Linked DNA regions of Homo sapiens: regions 1, 3, 4 and 5 are each linked to region 2. The links are contacts of gene promoters, found by promoter capture Hi-C in human tissues and cell types (Jung and others, 2019). All regions are on one chromosome and are shown on one strand. The core of a region is centred on a gene start or on the middle of the fragment in contact, and the rest is flanking DNA. Distances in the headings are between cores, read along the strand shown.

Evidence for each region. Contacts are between HindIII fragments. The study calls those that stand out against the background at their distance.
Region 1: a fragment that was not itself captured here is called in contact with the fragment with the promoter of ZNRF4 in region 2 in 2 of the 25 tissues and cell types used here (IMR-90 fibroblasts and lymphoblastoid cells).
Region 3: a fragment that was not itself captured here is called in contact with the fragment with the promoter of ZNRF4 in region 2 in 2 of the 25 tissues and cell types used here (bladder and heart left ventricle).
Region 4: a contact is called between the fragment with the promoter of KDM4B here and the fragment with the promoter of ZNRF4 in region 2, in 1 of the 25 tissues and cell types used here (IMR-90 fibroblasts).
Region 5: a fragment that was not itself captured here is called in contact with the fragment with the promoter of ZNRF4 in region 2 in 3 of the 25 tissues and cell types used here (IMR-90 fibroblasts, liver and thymus).

Annotation. Positions count from the first base shown.
Region 1 is chr19:5,152,139-5,154,838 of GRCh38, forward strand. KDM4B (lysine demethylase 4B) reads left to right here. Exons shown (of 23, transcript NM_015015.3): 23 at 1-1,460. Among named protein-coding and RNA genes, the nearest start is that of PTPRS-AS1, 24 kb to the right of the region's middle. RefSeq lists an enhancer at 1,828-2,328 and a silencer at 2,086-2,145. The HindIII fragment of the contact is 6,421 bases long and covers 1-2,700 here.
Region 2 is chr19:5,454,069-5,456,768 of GRCh38, forward strand. It overlaps ZNRF4 (zinc and ring finger 4), which reads left to right and starts at 1,349. Exons shown (of 1, transcript NM_181710.4): 1 at 1,349-2,700. The coding sequence starts at 1,424. The HindIII fragment of the contact is 14,927 bases long and covers 95-2,700 here.
Region 3 is chr19:5,171,792-5,174,491 of GRCh38, forward strand. No RefSeq gene overlaps it. Among named protein-coding and RNA genes, the nearest start is that of PTPRS-AS1, 4.6 kb to the right of the region's middle. RefSeq lists an enhancer at 873-2,072 and a silencer at 2,154-2,345. The HindIII fragment of the contact is 5,637 bases long and covers 1-2,700 here.
Region 4 is chr19:4,967,663-4,970,362 of GRCh38, forward strand. It overlaps KDM4B (lysine demethylase 4B), which reads left to right and starts at 1,451. Exons shown (of 23, transcript NM_015015.3): 1 at 1,451-1,568. RefSeq lists silencers at 915-1,014, 1,325-1,624. The HindIII fragment of the contact is 14,440 bases long and covers 1-2,700 here.
Region 5 is chr19:5,132,503-5,135,202 of GRCh38, forward strand. It overlaps KDM4B (lysine demethylase 4B), which reads left to right. Exons shown (of 23, transcript NM_015015.3): 14 at 1,381-1,559. Among named protein-coding and RNA genes, the nearest start is that of PTPRS-AS1, 44 kb to the right of the region's middle. The HindIII fragment of the contact is 6,554 bases long and covers 1-2,700 here.

The sequences.
Region 1 (2,700 bases), core at 110-2,609, 300 kb before region 2:
CACAGCCCGGTCACTCACGGCCTCGCTCTCGCCTCACCCCGGCTCCTGGGCTTTGATGGTCTGGTGCCAGTGCCTGTGCCCACTCTGTGCCTGCTGGGAGGAGGCCCAGGCTCTCTGGTGGCCGCCCCTGTGCACCTGGCCAGGGGAAGCCCGGGGGTCTGGGGCCTCCCTCCGTCTGCGCCCACCTTTGCAGAATAAACTCTCTCCTGGGGTTTGTCTATCTTTGTTTCTCTCACCTGAGAGAAACGCAGGTGTTCCAGAGGCTTCCTTGCAGACAAAGCACCCCTGCACCTCCTATGGCTCAGGATGAGGGAGGCCCCCAGGCCCTTCTGGTTGGTAGTGAGTGTGGACAGCTTCCCAGCTCTTCGGGTACAACCCTGAGCAGGTCGGGGGACACAGGGCCGAGGCAGGCCTTCGGGGCCCCTTTCGCCTGCTTCCGGGCAGGGACGAGGCCTGGTGTCCTCGCTCCACCCACCCACGCTGCTGTCACCTGAGGGGAATCTGCTTCTTAGGAGTGGGTTGAGCTGATAGAGAAAAAACGGCCTTCAGCCCAGGCTGGGAAGCGCCTTCTCCAGGTGCCTCTCCCTCACCAGCTCTGCACCCCTCTGGGGAGCCTTCCCCACCTTAGCTGTCTCCTGCCCCAGGGAGGGATGGAGGAGATAATTTGCTTATATTAAAAACAAAAAATGGCTGAGGCAGGAGTTTGGGACCAGCCTGGGCTATATAGCAAGACCCCATCACTACAAATTTTTTACAAATTAGCTAGGTGTGGTGGTGCGCACCTGTGGTCCCAGCTACTCGGGAGGCTGTGGTGGGAGGATTGCTTGAGTCCAGGAGGTTGAGGCTGCAGTCAGCTCAGATTGCACCACTGCACTCCAGCCTGGGCAACAGAGCGAGACCCTGTCTCCAAAAAAAAAAAAAAGCAATGTTTATATTATAAAAGAGTGTCCTAACAGTCCCCGGGCTAGAGAGGACTAAGGAAAACAGAGAGAGTGTTACGCAGGAGCAAGCCTTTCATTTCCTTGGTGGGGGAGGGGGGCGGTTGCCCTGGAGAGGGCCGGGGTCGGGGAGGTTGGGGGGTGTCAGCCAAAACGTGGAGGTGTCCCTCTGCACGCAGCCCTCGCCCGGCGTGGCGCTGACACTGTATTCTTATGTTGTTTGAAAATGCTATTTATATTGTAAAGAAGCGGGCGGGTGCCCCTGCTGCCCTTGTCCCTTGGGGGTCACACCCATCCCCTGGTGGGCTCCTGGGCGGCCTGCGCAGATGGGCCACAGAAGGGCAGGCCGGAGCTGCACACTCTCCCCACGAAGGTATCTCTGTGTCTTACTCTGTGCAAAGACGCGGCAAAACCCAGTGCCCTGGTTTTTCCCCACCCGAGATGAAGGATACGCTGTATTTTTTGCCTAATGTCCCTGCCTCTAGGTTCATAATGAATTAAAGGTTCATGAACGCTGCGAAACCCCGTTCCATGCCCCGGCAAGTGTCTTCATTTCTGAGCCTGTGCTAGGGGGACTGATGTTGGGGCCTCCCTGGGGTGGGGCTGCCTGCGCCCCGTTCTCCCGGGAGAAGGTTTGCTTCCAGAGCTGGATGTCCCTCCCCTCCCACTCTCCAGGGTCCCCAACACACCCCCACACACCCAGGGGCAGCTGTCATGCCCCTCATGCTGTGGCCAGGCTGGGTGGCTGGGGCAGCGGACCCCATGATTCCCCCTCAGTTCTCTGGAGGCCTGGCCCTGGCCTCACTCGTCCCAGCCAGCAGCTGCCCTGTCCCTGTCCCCCATCCGGTTCTGGTTACATCTGAGCCCCGAGAGCATTGCTTGTGGTGGTGGTGGCTGGCAGACGTGCTAGGCGCTGGGGCTCACGGCCCTGGATGGCCACTGGGACCCAGCAGTCCTGGCCTGGGTCACTCAGTGCCCAGCCCCACCAGGCCTGGAGTCGGCAGAGGGGACACGGGAGACCTGAGCCTCCCTCAGGGAGGTGACCCTCCTGTGCCTGGTGTGCGGCAAGAACATGAAGAGGCCCCTGTGGCTGGAGCAGAGGGAGGCAGGGGAGAGGGGGAGGAGGGGAGGCAGGGTGTGCAGGCCCTTGTGGGTCTCGGGAAGGACTTGGGCTTTGACCCTGAGGGAGGTGGGAGCCATGGAGGGGTGTGGGCAGGGGAGGGATGGGCCCTGACTCAGGTGCTCACAGGCGCCCTCTGGTGATTGCTGTGGGGAGGAGACGGGGTAAGGGCAGAAGCTAGGGACCAGGGCAGGGGTCAGGTGTAGTGAGAAGTGGGTGGATTCTGGATGCATTTTCAGTGCAGAGCCAATAGGATTCGCAGATCACCCGAGCCCCTGGAAGGAGGCGTTGAGCTGGGAGGGGGTTGGATTTGAACACCAGACGTCCAGGTGAAGGTGCTGGGTCTGGGGAGGCCGCCCCAAGGCAGGTGGTCAGGGGCCGTCAGCTGGCAGGTGTTGGAACTAGAGGATGAAGTCACCTGCAGGGAGTGGGTGGAGGTGGGGTGGGACCCAGGACTGGGCCCTGGGTGTCTGTGGTGGGACGGGGGCTGGGACACCCGGAGAAACCCAGGCCCAGCAGCCAGGGCTCGGGGGGACGCGGCCAGGCCATCCCTCCCTGGGCCCCGGCGTTCCCTCTGCAGAAGGAGTGTCCACCTGCCTGCTGTGCCGAGGGCTTGTGTCCTGAACAGAGGGTGCCCTTGAC
Region 2 (2,700 bases), core at 99-2,598:
TTGACTTATGGAGCTCATTCGACTGGGGACCTCTAGGAGATATGGTAGAACATACTTCGATTTGTCCCATAAGAGGGACGAGGGAGTGGGGGCATTTATCTACCACCTCCCATCTGTCACTGGCTGAGGGCTGCTCTGAGAGGTATTAGGCCAACACAGAAAATCTAAAGACTAAGTAGTCAGCCTGGCAAAGTGAAGTTGAGGAGCAAGAATTCTGTTCCAGGCAGAGGGAACAGCATTTGCAAAATTCTAGAGGTGAACAAAGCAAGATGCCTCTGGGACATTGCAAATCATCCAGGCTTCAGAGATTGGCAGGCGCCCAACCACAGGGGTGCATGTAGGCCACAGAGAAGAGTGTGGGCTTTATCTGGAGGGCAATGGGGAGCCATGGGAGAGTTTAGAGCATGGGAAAGACTATGTTACAGGTCTGGAAGCTGAGGCCCAGAGAGGCTAAGGAATTTAGCTGATGTCATACAGCTTATGAATGGCAGAGACAGAAATCCGACTTGAGTGGGCTGCAGACAGATTGAGGGTGTGAAATTTGGGGGATGGGGACTGGGGAGGAGGTGAGGCTGATGCCCAGGGCTGAAGCTCAGGCAGGGGGCACAGTTGGAGACCCAGCTGGAGAGGCAATGCTATAGGGAGAGAGAATGAAGCTGGTGCAAGCCTGGAGGCCAACCTGGCGGTGCGGACTTGGGACCACTGACCCCCACCAGCCCCACCCTGACCCTGGCACTTGACTCTCCCTCCAAATCAAGTCCAGGAGGGCTCTGAGGATATATGGACTCAGACCTGAGTCCGGATAAAAGAGCCAGCTACGGAGAGAAAGGGCTTTCCAGGCAGGAGGCCCAGCCCATGCAAAGGCCCTGGGGCAGGATCCTGCCTGGTGTGTTGGAGGAACAGCAAGGAGATCTGTGTGGCTGGAGCAGAGTGAGGGATGGTGACAGGGGGTCAGGAATTTGGGTTTTAAGCACTGATCTCATTGTAGGGGGGCGTGGCTTGAACAAGTCTGGGTCACTCTTGGAGTCTCAGACAAGGGTAACATTGAACCTTCTACAGTGTGTTGCTAGGAACCTCCAGAAGCTGATGCTGGTAGCGTCTTCGCACAGTGAGGGCTGAATCTGCACTGCTGGGGGCCGGCAGCCCTTTTGAAGCATCCCTGGGCCTCCTTGGGTCCAAAGATACCCTGAGCCTTCAAGAAGTTATCTCAAAGCTTGCCCGGGTACCGGCAAATCACAGACCTAGGAATGATCCATTGGCCACAGGCCCAGGCAGCTGGCAGCTCCTGGGACAGAATGTAGCAGGGCGATGTCACAGAAGCTGGGGGCATCTAGAACCCTGGTGACTCCTGGTCTCCATGTCATCTGCCAGAAAGGCCACCTGCGCCAGCACCTCCTGAGACCGGCCTTCAAAGACACGACGCATGCCGCTCTGCCGTCCGGAGCACTTAATGCCTAGAGCCAGCAGGGTCCCAGTGGCCGCGTCACTGCCTCTGAGCCACGCGGTCATTCCAACTCAACTGCCCTCGCGTCCTGGCCACAGGCCCCCTGGGAGACCCCGGAGATGCCCAAAGGCCTCATGCCTGCCGCCTCCAGTGGGACCTAGCAGCACACAGACAGCGAAGCGGGTGACCATGGGGTGGCCACGGCCGGGCCGAGCCCTCGTGGCAGTCAAAGCCTTGCTGGTCTTGTCGCTGCTCCAGGTGCCCGCGCAGGCAGTGGTACGGGCCGTGCTGGAAGACAACTCGAGCTCGGTGGACTTTGCGGATCTGCCGGCGCTGTTCGGCGTCCCCCTGGCCCCCGAGGGCATACGGGGCTACCTGATGGAGGTCAAGCCAGCCAACGCGTGCCATCCCATCGAGGCCCCGCGACTGGGCAACCGCTCTCTGGGCGCCATCGTGCTGATCCGCCGCTACGACTGCACCTTCGACCTCAAGGTGCTGAACGCCCAGCGCGCCGGCTTCGAGGCGGCCATCGTGCACAACGTCCACTCCGACGACCTCGTGAGCATGACCCACGTCTACGAGGACTTGAGGGGCCAGATCGCCATCCCCTCAGTGTTCGTGAGCGAGGCCGCCTCGCAGGACCTGCGGGTCATCCTGGGCTGCAACAAGTCGGCCCACGCGCTGCTCCTGCCCGACGACCCACCGTGCCACGACCTGGGCTGTCACCCCGTGCTGACCGTGTCCTGGGTGCTGGGCTGTACCCTGGCCCTGGTCGTATCAGCCTTCTTTGTCCTGAACCACCTGTGGCTCTGGGCCCAGGCCTGCTGCAGCCACAGACGGCCGGTGAAGACGTCTACCTGCCAGAAGGCCCAGGTCCGCACCTTCACGTGGCACAACGACCTGTGTGCCATCTGCCTGGATGAGTATGAGGAGGGCGACCAACTCAAGATCCTGCCCTGCTCCCACACCTACCACTGCAAATGCATTGACCCCTGGTTCTCCCAAGCCCCCCGGCGCTCCTGCCCCGTGTGCAAACAGTCGGTGGCCGCCACAGAAGACAGCTTTGACTCCACCACCTACAGCTTCAGGGACGAGGACCCCTCCCTACCGGGCCACCGGCCCCCCATCTGGGCCATTCAAGTCCAGCTACGCTCCCGGAGGCTGGAGCTGCTGGGCCGCGCCAGTCCCCACTGCCACTGCAGCACCACGTCCCTGGAGGCAGAGTATACCACTGTCTCCTCAGCCCCTCCTGAGGC
Region 3 (2,700 bases), core at 44-2,543, 280 kb before region 2:
ATTTGATGTTTAATCTTTTGCGTTTCTACATCCATCTAGCTCAGCGTCAGTTGCTGAGATCTGGGTCAGGGGTCACACCCAGCTTTTTCTTCTCTTACGTTTGATGTTGATAAATGAGAAAAACCAGGTCAGGTGTGCTGGCTCATGCCTGGCATTCCAACGGTTGAGGAAGCTGAGGCGGGAGGATCACTTGAGGCCAAGAGTTTAAGACCAGCCTGGGCAACAGAGTAAGACTTCGTCTCTACCAAAAAATCAAAAAGTGAGCTGGGCGTGGTGGTGGGCACCTGTAGTCTCAGCTACTCAGGAGGCTGAGATAAGAGGATCACTTGAGCCCAGGAGTTTGAGGCTGCAGTGAGCTACGATCACACCACTGCACTCCAGCCTGGGCGAAAGAATGAGACCCTGTCTTTAAAAAAAAAAAAAAAAAAAGGCCTCATGTCGTGGCACATGCCTGTAATCCCAGCACTTTGGGACGCCAAAGTGGGCAGATCGCCTGAGGTCAGGGGTTCAAAACCAGCCTGACCAACATAGTAAAACCCTGTCTCTACTAAAAATACAAAATTAGCCGGGTGTGGTGGCACATGCCTGTAATCCCAGCTACTTGGGAGGCTGAGGCAGGAGAATCGCTTGAACCTGGGAGGCAGATGTTGCAGTGAGCCCAGATTGCACCACTGCACCACTGCACTCCAGCCTGGGCAACAAGAGTGAGACTCCGTATCAAAAAAAAAAAAAAAAAAAAAAGAGAGAAAGAAAGCCGAGTGCGGTGGCTCACGCCTGTAATCCCAGCACTTTGGGAGGCTGAAGAGGGCAGATCACAAGGACAGGAGATGAGACCATCCTGGCTAACATGGTGAAACCCCGTCTCTACTAAAAATACAAAAAATTAGCCGGATGTGGTGGCGGGCGCCTGTAGTCCCAGCTACTTGGGAGGCTGAGGCAGGAGAATAGCTTGAACCCAGGAGGTGGAGGTTGCAATGAGCCAAGATCACGCCACTGCACTCCAGCCTGGATGACAGAGTGAGACTCCGTCTCCAAAAAAAAAGAGAGTGATGGGGCTCACACCTGTAACCCCAATACTTCACAGAGCTGAGGAGGGAGGATCACTTGAAGTCAGGAGGTTGAGGTCAGCCTGGGCAGCATAGCAAGACTGTCTGTACTAAATTTTTTTTAATTAGCTGAGCGTGATGGTGCATGCCTGAGTCCCAGCTACTTGGGAGGCTGAGGCGGGAGGATCGCTTGAGCCCAGGAGTTCAAGGCTGCAGTGAGCTATGATCACACCACTGCACTCCAGCCTGGGTGACAGAGCAAGATCCTGTCTTAAAATAAATAAAATAAAAATTTTCTAAATCCTGCAAATAATCTTATCGGAAGCATTTAGATCGAATTTTTAAATATACTCCACAGTGAATCATCCATTTCTGTCTCCAACAGGAAAAGAAAATCATGATGAATCAGCGAAAGGTCACACCCTTGGTGACTGAGCCATTTGTGCAAAAGCTTCATTCTTTTCCAGAAACCCCAGTTTGTCCTCAGAGTTAAGACTGTCAGCTCCAAAGGGATGGCCCCAGGCTGTGCTAGTAACTGAAAACCTCCCCACGACACAAGCCTGAAATAACCGCTGTGGGTGTGGGTGGTGTTATTGATGTCACAAAGAAATATCATCTCAAAACTCATGTTTCAAAAATGCTTGTGAGGGCTGGGTATGGTGGCTCAGGCTTGTAATCCCAGCACTCTGGGAGGCCAAGGGAGGTGGATCACTTGAGGTCAGGAGTTTGAGACCAGCCTGACCAGGTCAGGAGTTTGAGACCCAACATGGTGAAACCCCATCTGTACTAAAAATATAAAAATTAGCCGGGTGTGATGGCGCGTGCCTGCAATCCCACCTACTCAGGAGGCCGAGGCACGAGAATTGCTTGAACCTGGGAGGTGTGGGTTGCAGTGAGCAAAGATTGCCCCAGTGCACTCCAACCTGGGCAACAGAGCGAGACTCCATCTCAAAAGAAAAAAAAAAGACAAAAACAGGCCAGGAGCGGTGGCTCACGCCTGTAATCCCAGCACTTTGGGAGGCTGAGGCGGGCGGATCACGAGGTCAGGAGATCGAGACCATCCTGGCTAACACGGTAAAACCCCGTCTCTACTAAAAATACAAAAAATTAGCCGGGCGTGGTGGCGGGCACCTGTAGTCCCAGCCACTCGGGAGGCTGAGGCAGGAGAATGGCGTGAATCCAGGAGGCGGAGCTTGCAGTGAGCCGAGATTGAGCCACTGCACTCCAGCCTGGGCGAGACTCCGTCTAAAAAACAAACAAACAAACAAAACACGTATAAGCACCTTTTTCCAGGAATGCCAACATCCTTCCAAGGGAAAAGAGCAAAGTCTCGTCACCACGGTCCAGCTTGTCCTACAGCTGATGAGGGTGATGGAGCTGCTGTAATGTCTGTCGTTTTCTTCACTGGAAGATGAGAAGATAAATGTGGGCGGTCTTTGCTGAATAAAGCAGTGTGGGATTTGTGGTTCCCGAGCAAACTGTGTTTGGGTAGCAAGGGCCCTTTCTGGTTGCTCCCCAAGCTGGTCGCCTTTCTGGACTGACCCCACCCACCCTCCCCAAGTTACTCTGTGGCCCCCAAAACAAAGTTTTTTTGTTTTGTTTGAGACGGAATCGCACTCTTGTCGCCCAAGCTGGAGTACAGTGGCGCGATCTC
Region 4 (2,700 bases), core at 201-2,700, 490 kb before region 2:
ATAGAGACAGGTTTTTGCCATGTTGGCCAGGCTGGTCTCGAACTCTGGACCTCAGGTGTTCCACCCGACTCGACCTCCCAAAGTGCTGGGATTACAGGTGTGAGTCGCCCGAGCCACAGCACCGGGCCTGGCCTCCTTTTCAATTGCTACATAGTAAGTATTCCAGAGTACTGATTGCTATTAAGTTACTTCTCTAATCCCCCACTGATGGATAGTTAGTGCAAAACATTGGAAACAGTTGCAGACAGCCCTGCCGCCGGCATTCTTGAATTGTGTAAGCTCCAGACCTTTTTTCTGGGTACATCACCTCCAGGAAGAACTGCTGGCTGGGTTATCGGGTGGTGGATGCACTTAGAATGTTATTAGAAAATGTCAAATTGCCCAATTTACACTCCTGCCACTCCAAATGGGGGCATGCCTCACACCCCTGCGTGGTCCAGTACACAATGAATGCTCATTTTGTGAAGTCACAGGGTCAAATCTTTCTCCGTGCCTCATCCCACTTAATCCTTGCAACATTCTCAAGAGGCGGGTAGACGGGGTGTGGCCACTACCATCATATCCATTGCACAGTTGGAAACAGACTCAGCGAGGTTACTTTGCTGGAGGTCAACCACAGTGAGGCATGGGGCCCGGCTTAGCTTTGAATCCAGGTCAGAAAGCACCAAAGCTCATTCTCTCCCATACATTTTAGGGAACTCGGGGAGAGGGACCCTAACTATTCCGAAGGCCTTGCCCCTTGGCAAAGGTTTGTTGATTGTGATGGGAATAGACCTACGGTGGCGGGGTGGAGGCTCTTGCTGCTTTACCCTATGTTCTCGGTTCTCCTCCTTTGCAAAACGGATCGCTATGTCTCCTTGCTTGGCACTTTGCAAATTGGGGAACGCTAAGCCCACATTCCGGCCACGGGTTTCGAACCTCCAGCCTGCACGTTCCCGGCCGGTGCTGATGCTGTGCTGGGTCTCACGTACTCAGCCGCCGCCTGATAACCAGGGCGGGGCCCGGAGCTTGCGGGCAGTGATTGGCACCTGCCCCAGCCTGTCCGCGCCTCGGGCTGGCCCCTCAAGCCAATACTGGCTCCTCTCTGTGCGGTCGTCGGGCGGGCCCTGAGGCTCCCTTGTCAATCCAAGGCCCAGCTGCCGTCGGGTTGGTCGCGGCAGCCTTGGCTGGCGTGCGCCCCCTCCAATGAGAACAGAGCCGGTCAGCGGGCACGTGGGTGGGCGCCGGCGTGTCCCCGCCGGTCTGCCAATGAAGAGGCGAGGCCGGCGTTTGTCCCCGCCCAATCGCGGCGCGCGGTGGGCGGGCCGTGCGGTGTTGATGGGCCCGGCGGAGGGGAGGGGCGGAGCTGTCAGCTCCGGCCAATGGGCGCTCGGGCGTGGATCCGGCAGCCAATGGCAGTCGGGGCGGAGCTGGCGCGCGGCCTTATAAGCCCCCCCGCGAGCGCTTGCGGAGGGCTCGGTCGCCAGCAACCGAGCGGGGCCCGGCCCGAGCGGGGCCTGGGGGTGCGACGCCGAGGGCGGGGGAGAGCGCGCCGCTGCTCCCGGACCGGGCCGCGCACGCCGCCTCAGGTGAGCCCACGGGGAGGCCGCCCGGCCGTGTCCGAGCGCGGACCCCGCCGCCATGGCCGCCCCCGCGTCGCGGCTCGGGGCTGCGGGCGCGCCCGGGACTCGAGGCCCAGGCCTCGGGCGCGGCCTGCTCGGGCCGGGCCTCGCGCTTTGTCCGGGCCGGCGGGGCGGTTGGGGCGTTAACCGCCCGGCCCGGGGGCGCCCGCTGGTTTTCGGGCGGGGGCGGCGGGGCCGGACAATGGCGGGGCGCGCCCAGGGGCGGGAGCGGGGGCCCCTTCCCGGGCCGGGGGCGCGCGGGGGCTGGGCACAGACGGCCCCGGCGCCCCGCACAAAAGATGACAGCGTGGGTGGCCCCGGCCGGGCCCTTTTATCACCCGGGACAAGCCTCGGCCTATTATTATTATTATTTTTGAAAGAAAGCAAGAAAAAGGAAAAAGACCCCAGCCCCTGGGTAACCCCCGCCTGCGTTTCTGGCCCTTTGGGCGCCAGGGGGGCTAAGGGGAAGCCCCCCAGCTGGACACCCAGGGATGCCCCCTAAATGCCTATCATTGCTCCTGCACTGCCCCCACCTCCGGTCAACCTGCTATGCCTTGGTAGCTTCCAAACTTGCCCCCCTGTACGTACCCGAAACCCCCACCCCGCCATAAGCATATGCAATCTGGATTTTAGAAAAAAATCATCTTGCTATGCAACGGCAGCCTCCACGAGTCTCTCCGTCCCTCCCCCTTCCAGCCTGATCGCCATCTCGAACGAAGCCCCTGCTCTAGAGAAATGAATTGAGGAGTTGCTTCCGCCGAGACCCCTTTTCTGTGTCCCCCGTGGACATCCCCCTGGGAGCTGGGGACGGACTCGCTCTGAAATCTGCTTGACCTGGGGTCTGCCAGGGCCCAGGTCTGCGCTCAGTGGTGGCCATGACAATCAGGCAGGACGGGGGACTCTGTCCACCTGGGCACGGTGGAAGGTTTTAAGGGGCATGTTTTCCGCCCCTGGGGGCAGTGGAGGCATGGACTGCTTTTGGGTGCATCCCATCTGTTTGCTTGGGGGAGGATGCTTCTGTTTTAATAATTTACCAGCACCCTGTGAGGAAGTGTTCCCCGAGTTGTGAAACTAGTGAGAAGGTGGTTCAGCTCCGTGG
Region 5 (2,700 bases), core at 42-2,541, 320 kb before region 2:
TCTGGATGGCGTCTTTCATCCTGCATGCAATTGGAGGGGTGGGGAGAGGAGGGTTCTAGAAGCGCGTGGGATCACAGGGCGGGAGCTCCCAGGAGTGGAGGAATCGGCACGGGGACAGAGGAATGACCAGGGGCCCCCGCGGGCTGGCTTGGGAAGGGGTCTTGCCTTCTACCCAGGTATCCTTCCAGAAGGCATCTCTGGGGCCTCCGTGGACTCCCCCACTCCCCACACCCCACTGTGACCCTTTGGTGAGACCGGAGCATTTGCCTGTGAGACCATCACGGCCCCAGAACCCCAGGCATTCTGGGGTTGTGAGTGACAGACGCAGCCAGTGGCTCTGTTCTCATCCCCAGGGCCTCGGGGCCGCTTAGGGCCTTCCCTGGGCTCCGCTGGCGGTACTGTCTGGTTTGGGTTTTCAGAGGAGTCTTGGCCTAAGGGCTTCCTGAGTCCACCATGGGAGACCTGGGCCTCCACCTCGGGGAGCCTGCCCTGCCCTGCCCTGCCCTCCTCTAGGTGAACCAGGGGCAGTGCCACAGCTGGGCTGATCCCAGGACCCCAGGCTCCCCTTTAGGTTGGGCTGAGGATTGGGCCACAGGAGTGGGCACCCCACTTCCTGGGGACAGCACCCCTGTGTCCACAGGAGATGCAGGGAGGGGACGTGGGGAGATTGGGGTGCGGCAGCTGGCAATGGAGGCCATTAGAGTTCAATGGGAACAGGCAACAGGTGGGAGAGAGACCGCCGCGGCTTCTCAGCAGCAGACCTGCCTTCCGGGAGAGTGTCCCCGTCACGCAGCTCTTCCTGGGGCGGGCTGCCTTGGCTTCCTAGCCCTGGTCACGGCCCCTCCTGACTCCCTGTCGCACTCCTCTGGCACCTCCCTTGAGTTCAGTGAGTCTGTGCCCACCTAAGACAGGAAGGACAGTGTCTCTGAGTCTCGGCTGGTCACTGCCGACGCCCCCACTCAGACTCAGACCCCAGGACGGGTGTAGGGCAGCCGGGGCAGGGCTGGGCACTGAGTTTGGCCAGTCCTTGGCCCAGAAGGCCCTGGGTGAGTGGACGGCTCTGGATGTCCAGGGAGAACCAGGTGTTGGGGGAGGGGCTCAGAGGAACCATGTTTGGGGGCTCTGGCCTCAGGTGGCAGTCAGCCGAGACAGACGTGTCCCCCTCCTGTTGATGGGATGGGACGCTGCAGTGTCAGCTTGATGGGCATTGTGGAGAATGGGGCAGCCAGGAGGCAGGTGGAGGGGGAGCTATGGGCCAGGGACCCTGTGGGCAGCCAGGGCTGTAGACCCGGGGCCATCCCCTGGGCAGTTGGGGTGATTCCTTGGACGAGTTTTTAGGGGGCTCAAGTGTCTCTCTCCCTCTCCCCTCTGTTCTTCTAGAGGCATCCCCTTTCTCCGGGGAGGAAGATGTGAGTGACCCGGACGCCTTGAGGCCGCTGCTGTCTCTGCAGTGGAAGAACAGGGCGGCCAGCTTCCAGGCCGAGAGGAAGTTCAACGCAGCGGCTGCGCGCACGGAGCCCTACTGCGCCATCTGCACGCTCTTCTACCCCTACTGCCAGGTGGGCAGGCGGGCCTCACGGGTCCCAGAGAACCCCAGGCAGGGGCGGTGGGAGAGGGCGAGGGACCGGGCACCCCACACGCCTCCCTCTCTCACGCAGGGCAGGGTGTTGGCCAGCACCCCGAGTTGTGAGGGCTTGTTCCTGACAGCCGTAGGCAGAGCCTGGTCTCTGGGTTTTATTGGAATGAAGCTTACTAACGTGCCCATGTGCAACATGAGCCATGGTGGATGGGGCAGAGGGAGGCTGCGGAGGCTCGGGGTCACTGCCCTCAGGGAGCGCCCGTGTCTGGTGGGCGCTGAGATGGGCCGGGTGGTGTGGGAGTGCAGTGAAGGCCCAGGTACACCACCTGGGTGGCCGGGCGGGGCTCCCGCAAACCCTGGCCTGTCTAGCTGAGCTGGGCACCTGGCTAAGGTCCTGTTTCTGGTGCTCTTTCCATGCTGGCCTCGCCTGTCCTCTGCACCCAGATGGGGAGCTGGCCTCTGCCCACGGCCATCCCAGGCATCAGCACCCAGCCCAGCCGTTTTCCTCGGATCTCTTAGATCCCCCCTTCTCTCTTCCCCTGGGCATGCAGCCTCCCCAGGACAGGACCTGGCCACATGCTTTGCACTCCCAGCTCCTAGCCCCATGCCAAGCATGTCCAGGCATCAGCAGAGCTGCCCTGGGTTGGGGACGTCACCCCCCAGGCCTGTGCGCCGGCCGGGTCTGGGTGGACAGAGCCAGGGAGAGTGCTGTGCCGAGGGTGGTGAGCCTGTCTTGGGGCTCTGCTGCTGGGAGCTGGATTTAGTGCTCTGGTTCCTGAGACAAACAAGACCTGACAGCCGACACCGTCTCCAGGCACTTGCTGTCCTTTGTGAGGCCAGAGAGGCTGCTGGGAGCCACAGGGCCTGGAATGCCACTTCAGACATGCGTCTTCCTAATTCCCCTTGCCAGGCAGAGTGTGGAGACTCGTTCATCACACACCACCCCCAGCATACCCCAGCGCCAGGGGCCACCCAGCACCAGGGGCCACACAGGCCAGCCTGAGCTCTGTGTCTGGATGCAACCCTCATGGGAAGGTCTTCGGCGGGTTGGGGACAGGGTCAGACAGTGTTTGGGGATCCTGACTTTCTGGAGGAGTGAGAAGAGGGGCCGAGGTGGCTCT